Regions from separate parts of the Homo sapiens genome. Here regions 1, 2 and 4 are each linked to region 3. The links are contacts of gene promoters, found by promoter capture Hi-C in human tissues and cell types (Jung and others, 2019). All regions are on one chromosome and are shown on one strand. The core of a region is centred on a gene start or on the middle of the fragment in contact, and the rest is flanking DNA. Distances in the headings are between cores, read along the strand shown. Region 1 overlaps ZSCAN20 (zinc finger and SCAN domain containing 20). Region 2 has its middle 8.7 kb from the start of TRIM62. Region 3 holds the start of A3GALT2 (alpha 1,3-galactosyltransferase 2). Region 4 overlaps TRIM62 (tripartite motif containing 62).

Region 1 (3,485 bases), core at 746-3,245, 160 kb after region 3:
GCCAGTGCCCCTTCCTGTGTCCCTGGCAGTCATGGCTAATTGGTTGGTTCTCAGCACATATTCACACTGTACTCAGAGCCCTCAGCACACTACTCTAGGCAGCCACTTCCAGTTGATTGAAGTTTCTGCTTTAAATGAAACCTATTTGCTCTCCCTGGCTTAAGCCCTTATGTGTGAGGTCAGGTCAGACTGCTTTAAGCCATAGCTTGGACTGTCAGCCAAATGGGCCTGACAGCCTTTAAGAGTTCCCAGTTTTTTCTCTTTGGAGGTCACAGACCAGTCTTGGCCTTTCCTGTGGAACTGGAGAGCATCTTCTCTTCCCTTTTCACTGAGTGGGCTCCTCATGACCACGTTCATACTTACTGCCCTAGGAGTCAAGATGCCCCTCAGCTTCCCTGTGTTTGTAAAGACATCTTGATTTTGATGGCAGTCAGCACTTATCCCTCATGACCTGGGAGGCTCTGTACTCTTTCTAGGTCTTTCTGGATATTGGAAGAGAGCTTTGAGATCACTTAGCTGAATCTAAGTGGCAAAGCGACAGCCCATGCTGAATGAAGTCCACCATCATGCTTTATTTAATCTCATAGTGTGTGAAAAAATTTTGAGTTGGTTACCAACATTTAAAAATCCAGAGTGCTAGTTTCTTTTGGAAAAATCAGCAGGCTTAGGAATATTCTGGGCATATGTTCCCCTGGCACTCTATAGTTGGCTGTAGTGCCCACCCAGTTCATTTCAGTCATTGACTCATTTACATTGCTAGGTCCTTATACCCATTTAAACTTGTAGCCACTGACTCTAGTCTCCCTTCTCCCTTGCTCTACCCCATCATACTAATTGGGGAACCTAGGGCAACTGCTGAGTAAGATCAGGCTGTAAGCTGCAGCCTAGCTAGGCAGCCACAGGGGCTACATAACTTGTCCAAAGTAACACAGCTGATTAGTGGCAGGAGTGGAACTAGAACCCCAGTCTGCTCACTCCTGCCTTAATGTTCTTTCCATTCTCCCGTACTGTCATCTTAAGAGTTTGGATGACTAGCACACATAGAGGAGGCTATAAGACATGGTTAAGAAAAATGATTGGAGAAAAGGGATCTCGGCTTAGACCCTAACTCTACCACTTGCTAGTTGTGTAACCTTAAGTGAATCTTCATAAACACTCAGTTTCCCTTTAGGTAATTGAGGATATAGTGCAGTCATACCTTATCAGATAATAATATTCTAAGGGTGAAAATCACTTTAGCCAAAAATCACAGTTAGTTTGAAAATCCTTTGGCAAGGAGCCGTTTCAGAAACTAACACGCTGCCTTTCAATAAATAAACTAATCAGCACAGCTGGGCTTTCTTGTTTGAACATTAGATGAGAATTCGCTTGTATTAGGGACTGTGCGGTATGAAAGACACTTTACTCACACTTAGTGGAAAGAGAGGCACGAGGGAATCAAGACCAACCTGGTGAATAGCGAAGTCCTAGGTGCCACCACCACATGCTTATTCTCGAACAGATAGTGAACGCAACTGGCTGCACTATTTAAATCATGCTCTTTCTCTCTTTCTTTTTTTTTTCTTCTTTTTCTGAGACAGAGTCGTGCTCTGTTGCCCAGGCTGGAGTGCAGTGGCACGATCTCAGCTCACTGCAACCTCCGCCTCCTGGGTTTAAGCAATTCTCCTGCCTCAGCCTCCCGAGTAGCTGGGATTACAGGTACGAGCCACCACGCTTGGCTATTTTTTTTTTTTTTTTGTATTTTTAGTAGAGACAGGGTTTCACCATGTTGGCCAGGCTGGTCTCGAACTCCTGACCTTGTGATCTCCCTGCCTCGGCCTCCCAAAGTGCTGGGATTACAGGCGTGAGCCACCGCGCCCGGCCCTCTTTCTCTCTTTCTGATCTTTGCAGTGGAAGTTACAGATCAGTGAAATGCAGCTCAACACCTAATGAGACTCCAGTTGCTGCCTGGAGGCTTCAGTGAGATTATGAATGTGGAACACAGCACTGTGCCTGGCACCTTGTGGGCACTCAGTAAAGGGGTACTCTTAGAAATTGCTGGTCCTAATGAGGCTCGATATTCCTGGTCATCTCGGAACTGAGGAATGCCCCGGTCCATTTTCCCTTGTTCACTTCTGTGTGAAGTCACCCGGCTGTTGGCCGACTCTGTTGGCCTCCCTCTCCCCACAATAGCCTGCTATCCATACTTCGGTCTAACTTCCTTAGAAAGTTACGGTTATGGTTCCTTAGAAAAAAAAGGTTATGGTGATATGTGGTCCCTGGGGCTTTCCGATTTCTATTTGAAACAAACCTTTGGGACTTTCAAGTCTTTCCAGGAGAAAATACCTATTATCTGAGACTCTGAGCTTTGGGCCTGGTGTGACTGCTAATTGCCTATTTTGTTGTAGTGTCCTGTTTGTGCAGGAACGCAAATGTCTTTGCTTGCTTATTGACTGTCTGTCTCACTAGACTGTAATTTTATTGAAGGTAGGGACTGTCAGTCCCAGCTACTGGTAGATCTGTAGCTTCCAAACAGGGTATAGCTGGTACTCTATAAATGATTGATGAATTGCTCCTTGTGTGAGAGGGTGACAGAAATGTGTTTGAACTCATGCATCAATAAGGTTGTGGTTCAAAAAGAAATTTCATGAAAGGCGAATTCTTTAGGTTCAAAAAGAAATTTCATGAAAGGCAAAATCTTTCTACATATGTGATCTCTCTGAGTGCTTATAGCAGTAATGTAGGTAGACAGAAATAGTTTAGTTTAATATAAATTATGGAATATCTGTATCCCATTAGGCTTTTGATACGCCAGGTTTATCATTTTAATACATGGTAATAAAACTTTTTAATGGCCCTGCTATTTATCAGATACTGGGTTGAGCACTGTGGATACAGAAATTAGTAACATACAATACTGATTCTAGTAATATAGTATAATGTGGGTGTCAGATATAGTAACAGGTAACTACAATAGTGTAGGATAATACCTATATTAGAGGTATGTACCAATTGCTTTGGTGATATAGGATCAGGGAGGCAATTCTTGGAGGGCAGGACATGAAAAGGGCATGTCAAGGAACTCCTATCAAAGGAGGTGACATTTGAGCTGGTGGTTGAAGGATGAGTAGGAAGCTGCCAGGTAGCCATGAGTTGTGCTTTAAGCCTCTTCCTAAGCATATGGAGGCCTTTAGGGCAAGACTTTAATTTTTATTACCCTTGTCTTGTTTCTCTTCAGTCCAGTCAGATTGCCCAAAATGAAAAATACCACCATCTCTCCATTCTCAATTCAGTTGTGTCATTCCCACTTGGAAGCAGCTAATGATCTCCTTTGAGTGGGCATTTTTTATGTCACCCAGACTTGTTGGGATGACACAGAGAGCTCATTTTTTCAAATAACCCAGCATGGGTGCCATCAGAGAGGCTGTAATCTCCTCTGGGACACACATAGATACGCACATCCTTCTCATACAATGTCTCATACAGTGTAGAAAGTGGTAAGTGTC
Region 2 (3,499 bases), core at 690-3,189, 130 kb before region 3:
CTGTTCACTACTGCCTGGGATTCCTGACCTCAGGCCACGACTCTTTCTGCACCAAGTTGATGACTCAATGCACCGCCTAAAGTTCTGCCCCTGCAAAAAATTCTCCACATGGCTGTTCTTCAGGAGCCCTTGAGTGGGACTGTAGTGCAGTAAGAGTGCACTTTTGTTTTCCACCAACCTATTGTGCCAACCTGTCCATAAACCAGGCCTAAGCTTTTTCCTCCTCTGTCACCTGGTCATCAGGAATCTCTCATGATTTCATAAGTGTGAGCTGAGGGGAGAGGTTCCAATGCAGGGATCACAACAGGGGATTCTGGGCCTGCTTCTGTAGTTTATTTGTGACCTCTGGTCCTGCTCAGGCCTAGTTCATGACAACGTTCCATGTCCACCCTTCAATGGATTACTGTTGCACATACTCGACTATACAGTTGGGTGGATCTGACAGTACACAACTTACAATGGGAAACTCTGGCTATATAATCAGTTGATCCCCCATATATATATATTCTACATCGTTTATTGTAACTCTTGTCAGTTGTTAAGCTGTTGCCTCTTAGCGCCGCAACCACACTTCTGTATCAACTTGTGTAGTGCTGGGGCTGGGGTTCAGAAATTCACATTCCAGCATATATATATATATATATATATATATATATATATATATGTATATATATACGTATATATATATACACATATATACGTATATATATACATACACACATACACATATATATATATACACATACTGTTGTCACCTCTGCTTTGGGTGACCCTCACCAGTTTCTTTACAGATTAAGAAACCGATGTGAGGTTTCTACTGCCTGCTGAGTTTACTAATCCCAATTAAGTATTCAGGGATGGGGAAAATAGTCACAGGAGGGTGTGAAGACCCACTGGACTCACTGTAAAATGGGCTTTGGCAAAGACTCCATTTATCATCTTGCCTCCATATCTCCTTACTTTAACAGGAGGGCTATAGTGGCAATTTGGATCCCCTGGAATCAGTGTCAGTCCGGACTCTGAATTCCCCAACTATAGAAATATCTGGATATTTTTGTTCTCCTGTGTACAGTTACTGTGGTACTGGGTCTGAGGACTAGCTTAAGCATGAAAAATGGGTGAGGGATAGTGATTTTCCACTGTGATGGCTCACCTCAGTCTTCACATTACATGCTCTTGATCTGTTTTTATTATATTGGGCAGCAATACCCTTGCTAGTCACCCACTGATCTCGCCCTTAGGAACTTCAGGGTCTATTAGCAATCCCACAGATCTCTGTGGGTAAGGGCCCCTTGGTTGAGTTTCTGACTTTGCTGCCCATTATGGTAATTCCATACACTATGTGTCTGATGGTTAAGTGCTGCTACCTGGCCTCTGCTGTTCTGGAATCCTATTGTCACCATTAAGAAACAGTAGGAACTCCAGTTCCCTAGCAGCTACAACACAATATAGAAGGGGCAGCCACCACTGAGTTGCTCAATGATGTCAGTGCCCCTTCAGGAGCTCATTCTTTATTGCTCCAGTGAAGGTGTACTGGAAACATACTAAGCTACTAAGCTGGTGGTCTTTTGGTTTTAGGCAATACATTTCTCCTCTGAACTTTTGACTCCTTTCTCCAGTTATGTCAGTTCACACATTTCTACATTGTTTATTGTAACTCTTGTCAGTAGTTAAGCTGTCACCTCTTAGCGCCACAACCACCCTTCTGTATCAACTTGTGTAGTGCTGGGGCTGGGGTTCAGAAATTCACATTCCAGCATTGCCAGTTGCTCCCTGTTATGCCTGCCAATGAGGAGGGCAGGAGGGAATTGATGTCGCAGCATCAGGAAGGAGGGACTTGCTTCTTCCTATTGACTTCCTGTCAGCTTCCTGTTCCTGTGAGCATCACCCTAGCAACGCTTCTTCACCCTGGCATCAGCAGCATCTTTCCTTAGCAGCAGCTGAATCCAGTTTGCAGTTTCCCAACACTTCCTAGCACCAGTTTCCAACACTTTGGTGTTCCTCCTCAGAGATCTGAGTTTTGGTTTCTTGGAACTTCTCTTGTAAGCTTCTAAATTTTGATAATTCCACTTCTTATTTTGTTTCACCAGCCGTGGGCATGGTATCTGCTTTTGTCATTGCTATCTTTGTGACAACTTAGCATTCTCTTTTTACCTTTGCAGTTACCTACTTAATAATTTTATACCTACTTAAGAATACACTACATTAGATCTCTATTTAAATTAGTGGTGTAGTTTCTACCTCCTGATTGGACACTGATCCTTTTGTCCTCTGAACCATCCCAGCTCCAAGTGTTCTTGCCAGGATGGTAAGTGCAGAAGCTCAGGAGACTTCGTCCTTATCAACAACTCTTCTCTTCTCCATCCCTATGTTCCATTTCCCTTCTTCCTATGTTCCTTCCCTTCCCAAAGCAGGCACATCTTCCAGCTTTTTATTGGTATCTATTAGGCAGGTCCTGCAGTTCTTTTAGTAAACATCCTTTTTTTTGTTTTTGTTTTTGTTTTTGTTTTTGTTTTTTGAGATGGAGTCTCGCTGTGTCCCCCAGGCAGGCAATGGCACGATCTTGGTTCACTGCAACCACTGCCTCCCAGGTTCAAGTGATTCTCCTGTCTCAGCCTCCCAAGTAGCTGGGACTACAGGTGTGCACCACCACACCTGGCTAATTTTTGTATTTTTAGAAGAGATGGGGTTTCACCATATTGGCCAGGCTGGTCCTGAACTCCTGACCTCAGGTGATTCACCTGCCTCAACCTCCCAAAGTGCTGGGATTACAGGCATAAGCCTGGCCAAAATCCTGTTTCTTTAAGCAGAGATAGTACCTCCTCAATGGTTGAGTGATGAGATTTAACCCTAGTGATTGACCTAGAAGACGCAAGAGAATGTAGAAGCAGATCTTGAAGAGGGCAAGTATCATCTTGCAAGGCATCTGCCTTAGGGGAGGCCTCTGCATAGTTTCCAGGCAAGAGGAGGAAGCCTATTATCCTCTAGCAAACGGGAGTGGGACACTTCTACTACTTTCATCATTAGGTTCTGGATGTGGTTTTCAGACCTATCTGCCCTCCAGCTGTAGGAAATTAGGGGATTTTAAAATGCTGTCATAGTGGCTTTCTAGGTTTCATACCATCCCCTGGGCTGGTAATTGACTAATTTGACCCTATCATTTTCCTCCTTTAGCACTTCAATGGTACTTAACAACAACCAACAAACTCCACCAGTTCTTTAACTACCATTGCCTCCACATCTCTCAGATGTTAGAGAGACTTCATAAATGGTTGTATCCCCTTGTATCTGTATCTTGTCCCCCAATTCATCCTAGGCCTCTACAATATATTAAAGACCATCAATAATGGAATCTTATTACCATTGGCCGACAAATTTTACAATCCTAGATTCCATCCTTGGGATCTAAGACCACTTCTGATCTGAGCTTAGAAGACCAGATACAGACCGCCACACAAAGATTTGAGTTAAATTAGCTTATTTGGAAAGTGACTATTTG
Region 3 (3,134 bases), core at 598-3,097:
AATGCAAACTGCAGCTTGAGAAGCACTGAGTTGGGACACTCAGGTGAATACTGCTGTCCAGGGGACACACAATACCTCAGGGCAGCGCTCAGCAAGGGGGCTGGGCCAGGGTCACTGTGTGAGAGAGGATGCATGGAGGCTTGGAGCAGATCTCAGTGACAGCTCACCTCTGCAAGGCTGGGCGGCCTCATTGGTGTGAATCAGATGCACCACATCTTCTTTTAGGAGTAGGTTTGGTTCCCTCCCTCTTTGCTACACATATAACAAACTCAGGTGGGGCCTGGTTTTCATTTTCTTCCATAAAGGGAAAATTAAGGTCCAGAAAGTGAAAAGAACTGCCCAGAGTCCTATAGGCCAGTGGTGCACCTGCGCACGTGGCCTGCACTCCAGCAGCAGGAGAGGAGGCAGCACATGGGGCGTTCGTTCTTGCCTGGGGGCTCCCCACGGCTCACTCCCCAATCTCAGCATCCTCTCCTCCCCTGTCAGCTCAGGGTCCTGCCAGTCATTCCCTGCCTCCTGGGGCACCAGGCTTTCCAGTCCCTAGTTCTACCCCCTGGGGATCAACTAATCAGCTTGTTTCTCCTCCAATAAGTATCCGTGTTCTTTAGGTGAAAAGCCCCAACCTACTGCAGGTTTTCAGGGTGCACCTTCAGTAGGCATTTGCCATTCCTGTTTACACTTTACACCAAGGCATTTGCACGGCGGGTAATGGGTGGGGTTGGGCTTTGAGTAGGACTGCCCGATCCCCCAGCCAGAGCTTCCAGCATGGCATTTGGGTTCCATTTGACCTGGGCCTAGCTCAGCCCTGAGGCTCATCTCACAAGGTTCTCGGCCCTGTTATTTCTCCCCGTGGGCTTGGCTTCTTCCCTTCGCACTCTATTCAGCTCCTGTCTGAGCTCCTGGAGGGCTGGCTGCAGCTGGGCTTCTCTGGTTCCTAGAAGCCTGGTCAAACCCCGTACTGGGAGCTGGCAAGGCTGCCTCGGGAGGTGCACTGTGGGAGGTGTGCGAGGTACTGCGTAAGGTACTACAGGAGCAGGAAAAGGCTGGAGGGGCTTTCTCCCCCTCTGTGGCTGTCCCACCCTCTTCACCAGCCTCCTCCCAACCAGGGTAGGGCAAACCGATGCTTATTCTGGGCTCTGGGCCTCAGCCAGGGCACACAGGCAGAGTTGGTCTTGTGAACTCCTGTGGTCAGGCCTGGGAGGGTGCTGAGACCCAGGACTGGGTGGGACCCACCAGCTCCTCCTGCCCCTCCTATGCCCCAGCCTGGGAGCCCGTGGTCTGTGGAGGCCCCTGATCAGTCCACTCCTCCACATTTCTTGTTCAGGTTCTACCTGCAGAAGGTGGTCCCTCAAGCTCCACCCTGTGCCCTGCTCCCCACTCTCGTTGGCTTCAAGAAAGGGTTAAAGATCAGCCATTAGGTCTTAAGGGGGCACAGGTTCCTAGTCCTGGACCATCAGTCCCAGTGGGGATAGAGGGAGCTCTCAGTTACAGTCGGGGAGGGAATGTACCCCCGGGTCTCTGCTTTCCGGCTCGCCAAGGGGGTTTAGAGTTAAGGGAAGCAAGGGGAGTCCAGCTTTTCATTGGCTACAAAATCTTGTGGAATACAACCTCCCCCACCCCGGTGTCCATGCACACGGATTGTCTTTCTTCTCCTGGGGCAATGTCCCCTCTCGGAGCCACCTTTCCCCAGGACTGGAGGCTCAGCTGGTACTCCTGGGCTCACTCTGGTGCCTCCCCTTGGTACTGTTTTAGCCATCAGACTGGATCCCTCTTAGCTCAGCTGTCCCCAAGCTTTCTTCCTCTCCATACCATTGTCCCCCCTCACCTGAGTCCCTCCTTGAGAGCCATATGGGGAAGCAGGTAGGATGGCCTGGAGCAAACTTTCCCAGCTTAGAGCTGGGGAAGAAATGGCCTGCTCCTGGAGATCTGGAACAAGCAGCTCCTCCCCCTTTACCTGAGGAGCTGCACCCACAGGAGCAGTCAGGATGGACTGCCTGCGAGGGACCTGCCGGGGATGCAACCTTTTGGGGGAAGCTGGCCCCAAGGTGGAGTGGGGCTGGCAACCCTTTTGGGGCCAATCACCTGGAAGAGGGTGGGTCTGAGTAGGCCAGTTCTGGTTGGCTGGAGGCTCTGTCATTTTGTACAGACTCCTCTTCCCTCCCCAGGGGAAGTGTCTTTGGTTCTTGGGAACAGCTGGCAATCAAGGTATGGTGTTTGCCACGCAGGAAAAGCCGTTCTGCACAGAGCCTCAGCCAGATCTGAAGGGCACTCGGCACCTGTGACCTTGGACAGTTCACCTAGTGGAGCCCTTTACCTTCTCAGTAGAATGTACACCAGTACATACACCAGTCACCCAGGAGAGAGAACCATGTAAATTCGTGGATGTTGAACCGTTGTGATTTACTCTGGGCAGTGCTTTTTAAAGTTCCAGTTGTGACCTATCTGAAGGCCGTGTAATGAGTTTAGTGGGTCGTGACCAAGATTTTTAAAATACGAACAGGAATACAATGGAAAATATTCTATATTGTACGTAAGGGTAGGTTTTGTTTCATGAAATGTTTGTTTCAGTTGATAGATATTGAAATGTGTATACAAGTTTGGGAAATATTTCTTTAAATTGTGGATCATGATGGAAATAGGTCTGTGAAATTCAGTGTGAAGTGTAAACAACAGGAATAGCAAATGCCTATTGCAGGTGCACCCTGCAAACTTGCAGCAGGTTGGAGCTTTTCATCTAAAGAAGATGGATACTTATTGGTGTGAATCAAATTCACCACATCTTCTTTTAGGAGTAGGTTTGGTTCCCTCCCTCTTTGCTACACACAACAAACTCAGGTGGGGCCTGGTTTTCATTTTCTTCCATAAAGGGAAAATTAAGGTCCAGAAAGTGAAAAGAACTGCCCAGAGTCCTATAGGCCAGTGGTGCACCTGCGCACGTGGCCTGCACTCCAGCAGCAGGAGAGGCGGCAGCACATGGGGCGTTCGTTCTTGCCTGGGGGCTCCCCAGGGCTCACTCCCCAATCTCAGCATCCTCCTCCTCCCGTCAGCTCAGGGTCCTGCCAGCCATTCCCTGCCTCCTGGGACAGGCTTTCCAGTCCCTAGTTCTACCCCCTGGGGATCAACTAATCAGTGTG
Region 4 (3,063 bases), core at 205-2,704, 180 kb before region 3:
GGGCCTTTCTAACTCCACCTCTGACCCTGGGAGAAGCTTGGCTCACAATTGAGACTTGACTTACAATTGCACAATTCCGCAGTGGCGTGGAGCCTGGTTTAACCTCCCACTTTAAATCCCAGGGAGATCACAGTCCTGGTGGCTGCTGCCTGTCACTGGAGCCATCATCAAAGTTGAGAAGCATTTCCAGAGAGGTCCAGTAAAGAGACATCTGGCTTTAGCTTTGGATGGACCGGGTTTGATTTCCAGCTCTGCCGAGTACTGGCTGTGGGTCCTCTGGGAAGTGACGTTTCCCTGCTCAAACACTGAGATAATGATACCAACCACAGGGGCGTGTCTCGATGGTTAGATAAGGTGTAAAAAGGACCAGTACTTTGCTTGCTGACTACAAATGGGGGCTCCAAATGGGGTTACTGCCATTCTATCATTTTTATCTGTCCTGGGTAAGGGCTTTGTTGATCCCTCCTTCCTTCCCAAGCCTGGCCTTTGTCCCCTCTCTTCACTTAATGTGTTAAATGTGGGGTTCATGATATCAGCCTGACAACCCCAGATTCTTTCCTTCAGGAATTCTCTGGACGTGTATCAAATATATCTCTTGGAGACACCCCCATTTCCAGGAGTCCCCAGTTGATAATGCAAATTTGGCCTCTATAGTTACTTCCACACACGTGGAAACTGTGAGTAAAGCCTGGGAAGTGGCCAGCATTTCTTGGAGCTGCTGCTGAGGCTGAGTGGGGAGAAGGTGGAATGCGCCATGGAGGGGGTGCTCCGACCCCAGAGGGAGAAGGCTGAGCAAAGACAGATCCACTGAGCCAAAATGAGAGGGCGTGGTTTTAGAGCAGTCACAGGGATCTGAGAGGATGGGGGAGGGCTTGGGATACTCTAGTCTCAGAATCACCCCAGTCACTTCCCTGTGAACTGGGCTGCTCTCCATCAGACAATCAGAGACCTCTCCACCCACCCCTGCCAACAGCCCCTCTCCCATCCTCGTTCTCATTCCTCTTCCTAGAAACCCAGGCGAGTCAATGACTGGGGTGGTTCCCTCTCCCCAGCTCCAGGCTGTAGATGAAGATCCACCTGTGGCCTGCAGCCTAACCTCCCTCATTCTGTGGGTGAGGAGGCCAAGAATGGCTTAGGGTGAAAATGACTTAACAGAAAGCCAACACCAGTCCTGGGCTCCCAGGGGTGCTGTACTCCCTTGCACACTGCAGAGAGCACCCAGTGGCCTGGGAGACACAGTAGCAAATGGAAGAAGCTACTTCCCTCATTTCTGTTTGCCAGCATAATTTCACAAGCCTCTGACTCTGTGACCATGTGCGGCTCTGTGGAGGGATACTTTGGAGACAAGACAGAATAGTGGGCATGGCCCCCATGTCTCTTGCCTGAGTCACTACGTTCCTTAAAAGATAAATAAACCTAGTCCTTGCCTTTTCCTGTACAGAAGATAGTGTCTGATGGCATTCATGATTATGCCTCTGTAATCTATAGCCCAGACACACTCTTACATGCAAACGTTGATATATGATTCCGCTTTAATGTTACTTCTTTTTTTTTTTTTTTTTTTTGAGACGGAGTTTCGCTCTTTGCCCAGGCTGGAGTGCAATGGCGCGATCTCCAGCTCACCGCAACCTCCGCCTCCCGGGTTCAAGAGATTCTCCTGCCTCAGCCTCCCGAGCAGCTGGGATTACAGGCATGTGCCACCACACCCGGCTAATTTTGTATTTTTTAGTAGAGACGGGGTTTCTCCACGTTGGTCAGGGCGGTTTTGAACTCCCAACCTCAGGTGATCCGCCTGCCTTGGCCTCCCAAAGTGTTGGGATTACAGGCATGAGCCACTGCGCCCGGTGGCTTTAATGTTACTTCTGAGCAAGTGTGATGTGATTTTGCGTGTACTAAACCTCCACCACCTGTATATAAGCAGTGGGCTAAAATACTGTCCTGGGCCCGACTGATAGAACCTCTCTAAAGGGCCGCTGCTGGGCTCTAGGCCTGTCTATAGTACTCAGTAAGACTTCTAAGTAAAGTGAACTTTAATTCTTTAAAAGCTTGATATTTCTTCTTTAGTCGACAGTCTTTTCCACTTAAGTGTGCACAGCCTGTGTGTCCACATGCAGAGCCTGTCCTAACTCCCAGCCAGGATGCTTCCTCATCAGTCAGAGGTGGGATGGACCTCAGGATGGTCCTGGTCTAGGTGGTTCCATACCCGTCACAGCCCATAAGGAGAAAGACAGACTTCTTGGGTCAGAGCCAGCCCAGAGGTTCAGGAAACCCATACAGCTCCAGGCACTGACTCTGGGAGGCAGCTGGGGGGATAGGGTAGGGCCTCCTTAAGTGCACTGCACTTTACAGCTTACCAATAAATTATGTGAAATTGGTATCCTCATCTTCCATGTGGGAAAACTGAGTCCCAGAGAGGGTGGTCATTTTTCTAAAGTCACACAGTGATGGAGCCTGGATTTGAGCTGAGGTCTGTGTGGTTCCCGAGACCAGGCTCTTGCCACTGCCCCATGAGCTGCCTGCTGCCTGCTCCCAAGACTACCACCACCTCTCCTCCAGGTAAAGACTGACAGCCTTCCCTGGCTGGTAAGTTTTTGGACAGGTTTGTGGTGTGGCACTTGCCAGCATGGGATATGGGACCCCAGGTAAGTCTTGGCTTCTCTCTGAACCTCAATTTTCCTCCTCTGTAAAATGAGCATAATACCATTTACCCAGCCGGGCTGCTTTGTGGATTAGCTATGCTCATGTGTGTGCACTGCCTGGGACAGAGCTGGGTGGGCCTGTGTGTTTGTCAAAATGAATGGAACTGGCTACTGACATCTGTAACTTTAATTTAATACAAATTGATCATAACTCATAAAATGGGCAACATTTTAAATAAAAATACTGCTGGGGTGGCCCAGATTCTGGTAGTTGAAGGGTTGGGGTAGGGCTGACAATTCCTTTTGCCCAAGGGAGGCCCGGGTGGCGGGGGCAGCCATTTTAAGAACCCCCTGTGTTTAGCTCTTCCGGCTACTTTGGGATGGTGTGTTGTGTCAGAGACCCCAAGTGCAGAATCTAGGCCCC

The links. The method cuts DNA at HindIII sites, captures the fragments that hold promoters and counts their contacts. A contact is called where the count stands out against the background at its distance.
Region 1: a fragment that was not itself captured here is called in contact with the fragment with the promoter of A3GALT2 in region 3 in 2 of the 25 tissues and cell types used here (adrenal gland and dorsolateral prefrontal cortex).
Region 2: a fragment that was not itself captured here is called in contact with the fragment with the promoter of A3GALT2 in region 3 in 1 of the 25 tissues and cell types used here (bladder).
Region 4: a contact is called between a fragment that was not itself captured here and the fragment with the promoter of A3GALT2 in region 3, in 1 of the 25 tissues and cell types used here (adrenal gland).

What each region holds. Positions count from the first base shown.
Region 1 is chr1:33,474,105-33,477,589 of GRCh38, forward strand. All of the region lies in intron 1 of ZSCAN20 (zinc finger and SCAN domain containing 20), which reads left to right. Among named protein-coding and RNA genes, the nearest start is that of ZSCAN20, 3.2 kb to the left of the region's middle. The HindIII fragment of the contact is 5,454 bases long and covers 1-3,485 here.
Region 2 is chr1:33,189,009-33,192,507 of GRCh38, forward strand. It overlaps a transcript of ZNF362 not described here. Among named protein-coding and RNA genes, the nearest start is that of TRIM62, 8.7 kb to the left of the region's middle. RefSeq lists an enhancer at 3,172-3,341. The HindIII fragment of the contact is 4,880 bases long and covers 1-3,499 here.
Region 3 is chr1:33,319,251-33,322,384 of GRCh38, forward strand. A3GALT2 (alpha 1,3-galactosyltransferase 2) reads right to left here and starts at 1,848. Exons shown (of 5, transcript NM_001080438.1): 1 at 1,826-1,848. The coding sequence starts at 1,848. The HindIII fragment of the contact is 15,797 bases long and covers 1-3,134 here.
Region 4 is chr1:33,142,591-33,145,653 of GRCh38, forward strand. It overlaps TRIM62 (tripartite motif containing 62), which reads right to left. Exons shown (of 5, transcript NM_018207.3): 5 at 2,809-3,063. It also overlaps a transcript of AZIN2 not described here and a transcript of ZNF362 not described here. Among named protein-coding and RNA genes, the nearest start is that of TRIM62, 38 kb to the right of the region's middle. The HindIII fragment of the contact is 3,913 bases long and covers 1-3,063 here.